Regions from separate parts of the Homo sapiens genome. Here region 2 is linked to region 1. The links are contacts of gene promoters, found by promoter capture Hi-C in blood cells and fetal thymus (Javierre and others, 2016). All regions are on one chromosome and are shown on one strand. Each heading gives the region's core, a stretch centred on a gene start or on the middle of the fragment in contact. The rest is flanking DNA. Distances are from core to core; before and after follow the strand shown.

Region 1 (3,064 bases), core at 205-2,704:
AAATGACAACCACTGGAAGTAATGCCTTACCAAATCCTACAAATTCTGAAATACTATGAAATAATTCACACAGTTGCTTGTATCAATACTTCCACAAGTTATTTTAGAATTCTGGTAAATATCCAGTGAACCAAGGCATAAGTGTCTTGCTGTCTTACACCAGTGTGCTTAAACTTTGCCAAGGCGTGTAGATTGATCACAACACACACTTGCAGAGCACTCTTTTTACTACTTGCCACACTTAATCATTTTCCTGAAGCCCCAAAATAAGTAAATTGTGTATTCACTTAATTAAACACACATTTACCTGCAAGGAAGACACAGGATCTTTGGAATCAACATACACATCTTTTAGAAACGACAGCAGCTTTTCATCTTTACGAGCAATCTCTCCTTTAACTTCTGGATAGACTAAGGAAAGGAAAAAAGTCACAATATTAAAATCAAGGAAAATTTCCTGTAATATCCTAAACGCTTAACACAAACGCTTTCTTTTATTTTCTTTTTTGAGTCGGAGTCTCGCTCTGTTGCCCAGACTGGAGTGCAGTCGCGCGATCTCGGCTCCCTGCAACCTCCGCCTCCCGGGTTCGAGAGATTCTCCCACCTCAGCCTCCCGACAAGCTGAGGCTACAGGCGCGCCACCACGCCCGGCTAATTTTTGCATTGTTTGTAGAGACGGGGTTTAGCCATGTTGGCCAGGCTGGTCTCGAACTCCTGACCTCAGGTGATCTGCCCGCCTCGGCCTCCCAAAGTGCTGAGATTACAGGCTTGAGCTACCGCGCCCGGCCTAACCACTTTAATTTTTTTAAAAAATAAACATAATCATTTGGACTGTTAGGAAAATACTTTAGATGGAAATCAAAATTCCAGGTCAGGCTCTGCGTCCATCGTCCAGTGAAGACCCCTAGAGAAAGCTCTGTGACCCTCTCGGATTTTGATTCCCTGTATCAAGTCCGTGACAGCAGCCGGCGAGGGCCTGGTTAGCGGGAGCACTGGCTGCTGCCTCTGGGTCTCGGAAGTAGGCGGGGCCGCCGACCTCACCGCGGGCGCGGAGGACAGTCTCAATGTCACCGGCCTGGCGGCTCCCCCTTCCAACGCTCCGCCAACCCGAGCGGCTGCGGCCGAGCAGGCTGACGCCGATCCCTCGGCCTCCGGACCCACGCTAGGGACAGCCGGGCAGCACAGGGACTCCGCGCCCCCGGGCCCCGAAACGCCCTCGCACCACTCACGACTAATCTGCTCTCGCAGGAGGCTGTTGGTAGAGGGGTGTCTGGGAGCGACAGAGGGCTTCATCTTGCTGATTTCCCGTTCCGCTCGGTTCTCTAGGTTGAAATTCCTGATACCGCGAATCACTAGTGCTCCCATCTCCTCATAACATTATGCGCTCAGGTTCAGGCCGCACGTGGGAACACCGGCGCAGGACAACTCCGGGACACCCGGAGCATGCGCACAAGTGAGGGGAAGCCCCGCCGCGGGCGCTTAAATGCGTGCCCGTCGCCCCCTAGCGCTCGGGAGGCCACACACCGCTTCTCTGCCCAGGGCATTTAAAAGGGAGCCCCTCCCTTCGGGGCGAGTGACGGCTCCCACGAGGGCCGCTTCCGGCGGGAGGTGGCGGGGCTTAAGTCCCCAGACCCACGGTTGCTTTTAACGCTGGAACTCCGAGGGAGTCACCCGGGAAGCTCTGTAAAGTTCTGTGCCGGGCCCTACCCCAGACTTTCTGATTTAATTCTTGTGGAGTGAGGCCCAGCATTGGATAAGACTCCACGTGATTCCAAAGTTTCAGTGAAGAGCTGAAAATCAAAGTCGTAAGGAAGTTGACCTTGAAGTTGTTTCACAGGGCAATGCCACCAAAGAGTTAGCCGATAAAAATGGAACTTACTGAACCAGGGTCAAACTGGGCTCTCAAGTTGCCCTTTCCTGCTTTTGTGAAAGGAAAATAATGAAAGGATGTTCCCTTTCGATGAGTATTTGTTCTCAGCCGCTCTCATTTAAATGCCTCTTATTTTCCTGTCCCCCCGCCTGATGCATTTTCAAGCCACTGTATTCTTTTTCCATTATTTTTTACATCCCGTTCTCATTTGACCTAATGGTATCGATTTTAGTTATACTTTCCCTTATCTTATTTTTGCTACTAATTTACTTCTCCATGCTACTAAATGCTGAGTCATTCCCTCTCCTATTTCTCTTCTCTCTTGCCTTCTTCATTCTTTTTAAGCCTCTGTGTAATTTAATGAAAGGAACAGACAATAAGACGTCAGAAAAAAAAAACAAACAAACAAAAAAACGAGTGTTACATTCACCTTCTCCGTCTCTCTCCATTTCCTGAATGGGTTACTGTAGTGCTGCTTTTATTTAAGACCCTTTAGAAATATTGTTATTAATCTAAAATAAAACCCACCAGGAAGGAAGCAGTAGGAAGGAAGTTACAGTATTTCTCTTACTGTGGCTGCAAAATCTATTTTTAGTGTTCTGATCTCTGCTTAGCAAAATGAAGTAGAGTGGATGTTTTTAACCAGCTTAAAGTAAGAAAATATTGATGTAAAGATAATCGAATAGAATAATAATAATAAAACAAGAATCAAAGAACCAAAATGAAGAAAGGGAAAGTTTTTTAAAAAGAAAACTAATGTAATCATTAAGTATAATGCTTAATCAGAGCAAAAGCACTGCAAGGAAGACGGCTTCAGCCACTCTAATTTAAATGCCCTTTATTTAATTATACTGAACATTTTTACAGGGATTGGTATTTGGAATTTATAGAAGCTGAAATCAGTGATCTCAGATAGCATTAACTGGGAAGTTATCCTGAAGGTGGCAGGCTGCTCCAAGATTTCTATCTTTGATACTTTTAAGCATGCTTGTGATTCAGGGCTTTTTAGGCACGGTATTTCTATTTCTATGGGTGCTAAGAAATTTTAATCTGCCTCATTATGTCTATGTGCTTTAATCATGGTAGCAATTCGACTCACTGCCTGTTAAAATATTTTAAAAGTGAAAATCTCATTTTCATAGAAATTCCACCGAACTTCGGGCAGTATGAAAAAGTAATGTTAGAAGTGACTGT
Region 2 (3,064 bases), core at 271-2,770, 540 kb after region 1:
GTTATTTCACCTATTTCTGCTTTTGGAAAAAAAATCCTACACATTTACTCCCTACTAAGAATATATTATTCTTCAATTTATTTGTTTATTCTTTCATCTCTCTACTATCCTTCGGAGTTCAGGTGTTAGTAGCACCATATTTGCATCGAATATTTTCATTTGCTAAATTAAAAAAATCTCAGAAGTATCTTTACCTTTTTTTGGTAACATTGCACTTTTATAGCATTACTGAGACTTTATTTTCTAGGAATATAAGGCTAAAATGAAATTTAAGTCATAATTCAATATGGTGAATATTTTAATTCTTGACAAAAATATAACTTTTCTGAGATATATTTATTTTATGAATGCACAAAAGAAATATATATATGAGTTAATGAAAGCTTCCAATTGACATTTTTAGACTGGAAGTTAACTGAGGCCAGCTAAACGTGTTAATTAGTTGACTGTCATTTTTAAATAGAGATTTACAATATGAGTTTGAACTTATTAATATTATGAATTTCATTGTTGTTTTCCTGTGAGCTGTATGAAACTCACCACAGTAGAGAGCTGGATGGTTTCAATATCTAATGACTGAACTTTTCACCTCAGGCCTTGGGTCACATTAGGCTTTGGTTTCAAGTGATTGACAGCCATTTCATAGTAACCTGAAATGAATTGGGGGTCAAAATCATCCAAATGATGGAGAGAAAATGCCCCCGTTAGAAAAAAATAAAGGCAGAAGTAAACTAACCAGTGTAGTTGAAACTAATTGGCCTCCTTATTGGCAAAGGATTGAACGGGCACAGGGACTGAATTAATCTCTTGAATTCGGTGGCAGATCCTTGCAGGTTGAAATTGTGAATTGGCAGGTTAGCATAAGGGGTGGCTGTATCCCCCTAGCATGTGATACTTCTGTTCTGTGAATTTCCATTTTGTGGAGCTGTCAATCTGAGGCTTTTGTGAGCATTAAACTTTCTTTAGAAACAACACCACTAAAAAAAGAATGACCCCACCTCCTAAACTACCACATAAATCAGCTTGATTAGTAATCTCTATTAAGAGACATTGAGTTTTGAATTGGCTGGGGTATTGTAGGTCCAGAATGAAGGACTTGGCAGGCCCAAATAGGGAAGTTTGAACATCTGCCCTACTCCGTCCTAGCACTTCTGCAAGTTTTAAGCCTATTCACAAATGGCCTAAATTATAAAAGTGCAAACTGTAGTTCTCCACAAGCAGTTTTTCAAATAACATTAAGGGGTGAATATATAATATTAGTATTTATTGAAGGTGTAGAAATTCCATAAAATATTTTATATTAAGGAGAAAGGTAACAGTAACAGACCTTTATATTTGAGCCCATTAATACCAGCTTTCTTTTAGCATTCTTCTTTTCTGTAACAAGTGAAGTTTGATCTTGAATTTTTATTCAAAGCTCTGTAAACCAAAGCCACAGATGGGGTATTGCTGTGTCATTTCCATGGCCTTATACAGATTACAGAATGTATGCAGCTGTCCCATACTCCCTTAATAGACCTTCAGCTTTTCAATACATCTTCCACTGATGGCATTTCTGTGGATAAACATCATTTCAGAATGAAATGTGCCAGATGTCCTGCAGTGCACTTAGGTACAACAAGGCACTTTTTAAAAAAGTCGCGCCTGTATTATTTACTCATTTAGAGAATGTGACTTCTGGAATATACATTGGAAATCCAAAATTTGCTGAATGAGAGAGGAAATATTATAAATAGTTTTTAACTCATATGTACCTTAAAATTCCCTTAAATACATTTTTTCTGGACCATAAAGAAATCAATGTTTTATATCCAGGTTTCTCATAATTTTTTCCTCTAGGAGGCATAACTCAATCAAAATCTCTGGTTACTACTGAATAGAAATAGTCCTTTTTATTGAGGTTAAAAATTGCTAGATCAGGGATTTGGAATATATATGTATGTCTATATATACACACATATATATAATGTTTCCTTTAGTATAGCTAATTTTATGAAGCATTCCTTTCAACATTCTTGAGTTTTATATTCCTGCCACAAGAAAATATTATTTTCAAGTTCTGTATTTTGTTATTGTTGTTGTTAAGAGACTGGAATAGGTGATCCAAATGAAAGTAAAACACCAGTGAGAAATGGCAATTCAGGATCATTCCAATATCAGCATTTGATTCTCTCATATCAGATGCAACTATACCACATGCTCAATTGAGTGCTTGACTGACTATTGACTTATGTCATTTAACATTTTTTTACATACATACCACTCTTCAAAGCCTGCAAATCATTGACTGCAAGGACCATATCTTCTGCCACTTAATATGCCTCGTTGCTGAACACAATGTGAGATTTTAGTCAGTGGCTGTTGAGTTGATGACTACGTTTATGGTAAACTAGAACAAGGAGATGTGTATTAAATTTTTCTATGAGGAAATCCATTTTCACTTATAAGTGCTTATAGATTATACCAAAGATATAGACTTCACTTAATTGCGATATCGCAAACTGTGGTAGCTTTAGTGTTCTTCAGCATGTTTTTTATGCATTTTTCATTTTTTAAAGAGTGAGATTTGTAGAGGCAGTCCACTAATAGCTGATAAAACTGAGGTACAGACCTTTAGATGGTCCACAACTAAAGGAGATGGTGCTAGGCTGTATTTTGAAGCTTCTGAGAATCCCTAGGAATTATTTAAAAGAGACACGTCCTTCAATATTGCATAAACTAATTATCTATGAACTGTTTATCCTAAGCAAAATAATAATAATAATAATAATAAATCATAATGAGAAAATGTTACTCCAGGAACGTTGACAATTATTTAAAATCTCACTATGTATTTAATTCAAAAAGTGTGATTCTTGAGGCTGTATACTTTTCTATGTGTGCACTCCCTAAGAAAACTAGCTGAAACTTTTAATGATTTATCAAATCACTTGATAATTTTATATATTGTCAATTTACCTCCTCTTCCTAACAGCAATGTTCCTCTTAACACAAAATATACTGCATTTAGAAAACTGAAACATATTTATCATTTGTCTTGCCATCAAGGTTTTTAGAAAATATC

The links. Contacts are between HindIII fragments. The CHiCAGO score rates a contact against its expected background, and 5 or more counts as called.
Region 2: a fragment that was not itself captured here is called in contact with the fragment with the promoter of NDUFAF4 in region 1 in 1 of 17 cell types (endothelial precursors); the score reaches 5.2 in endothelial precursors.

The regions. Positions count from the first base shown.
Region 1 is chr6:96,896,437-96,899,500 of GRCh38, forward strand. NDUFAF4 (NADH:ubiquinone oxidoreductase complex assembly factor 4) reads right to left here and starts at 1,455. Exons shown (of 3, transcript NM_014165.4): 1 at 1,230-1,455; 2 at 308-411. The coding sequence starts at 1,365. It also overlaps a transcript of KLHL32 not described here. RefSeq lists an enhancer at 1,278-1,377. The HindIII fragment of the contact is 8,617 bases long and covers 1-3,064 here.
Region 2 is chr6:97,437,605-97,440,668 of GRCh38, forward strand. All of the region lies in intron 1 of LOC101927314 (a long non-coding RNA gene), which reads left to right. Among named protein-coding and RNA genes, the nearest start is that of MMS22L, 160 kb to the left of the region's middle. The HindIII fragment of the contact is 2,278 bases long and covers 382-2,659 here.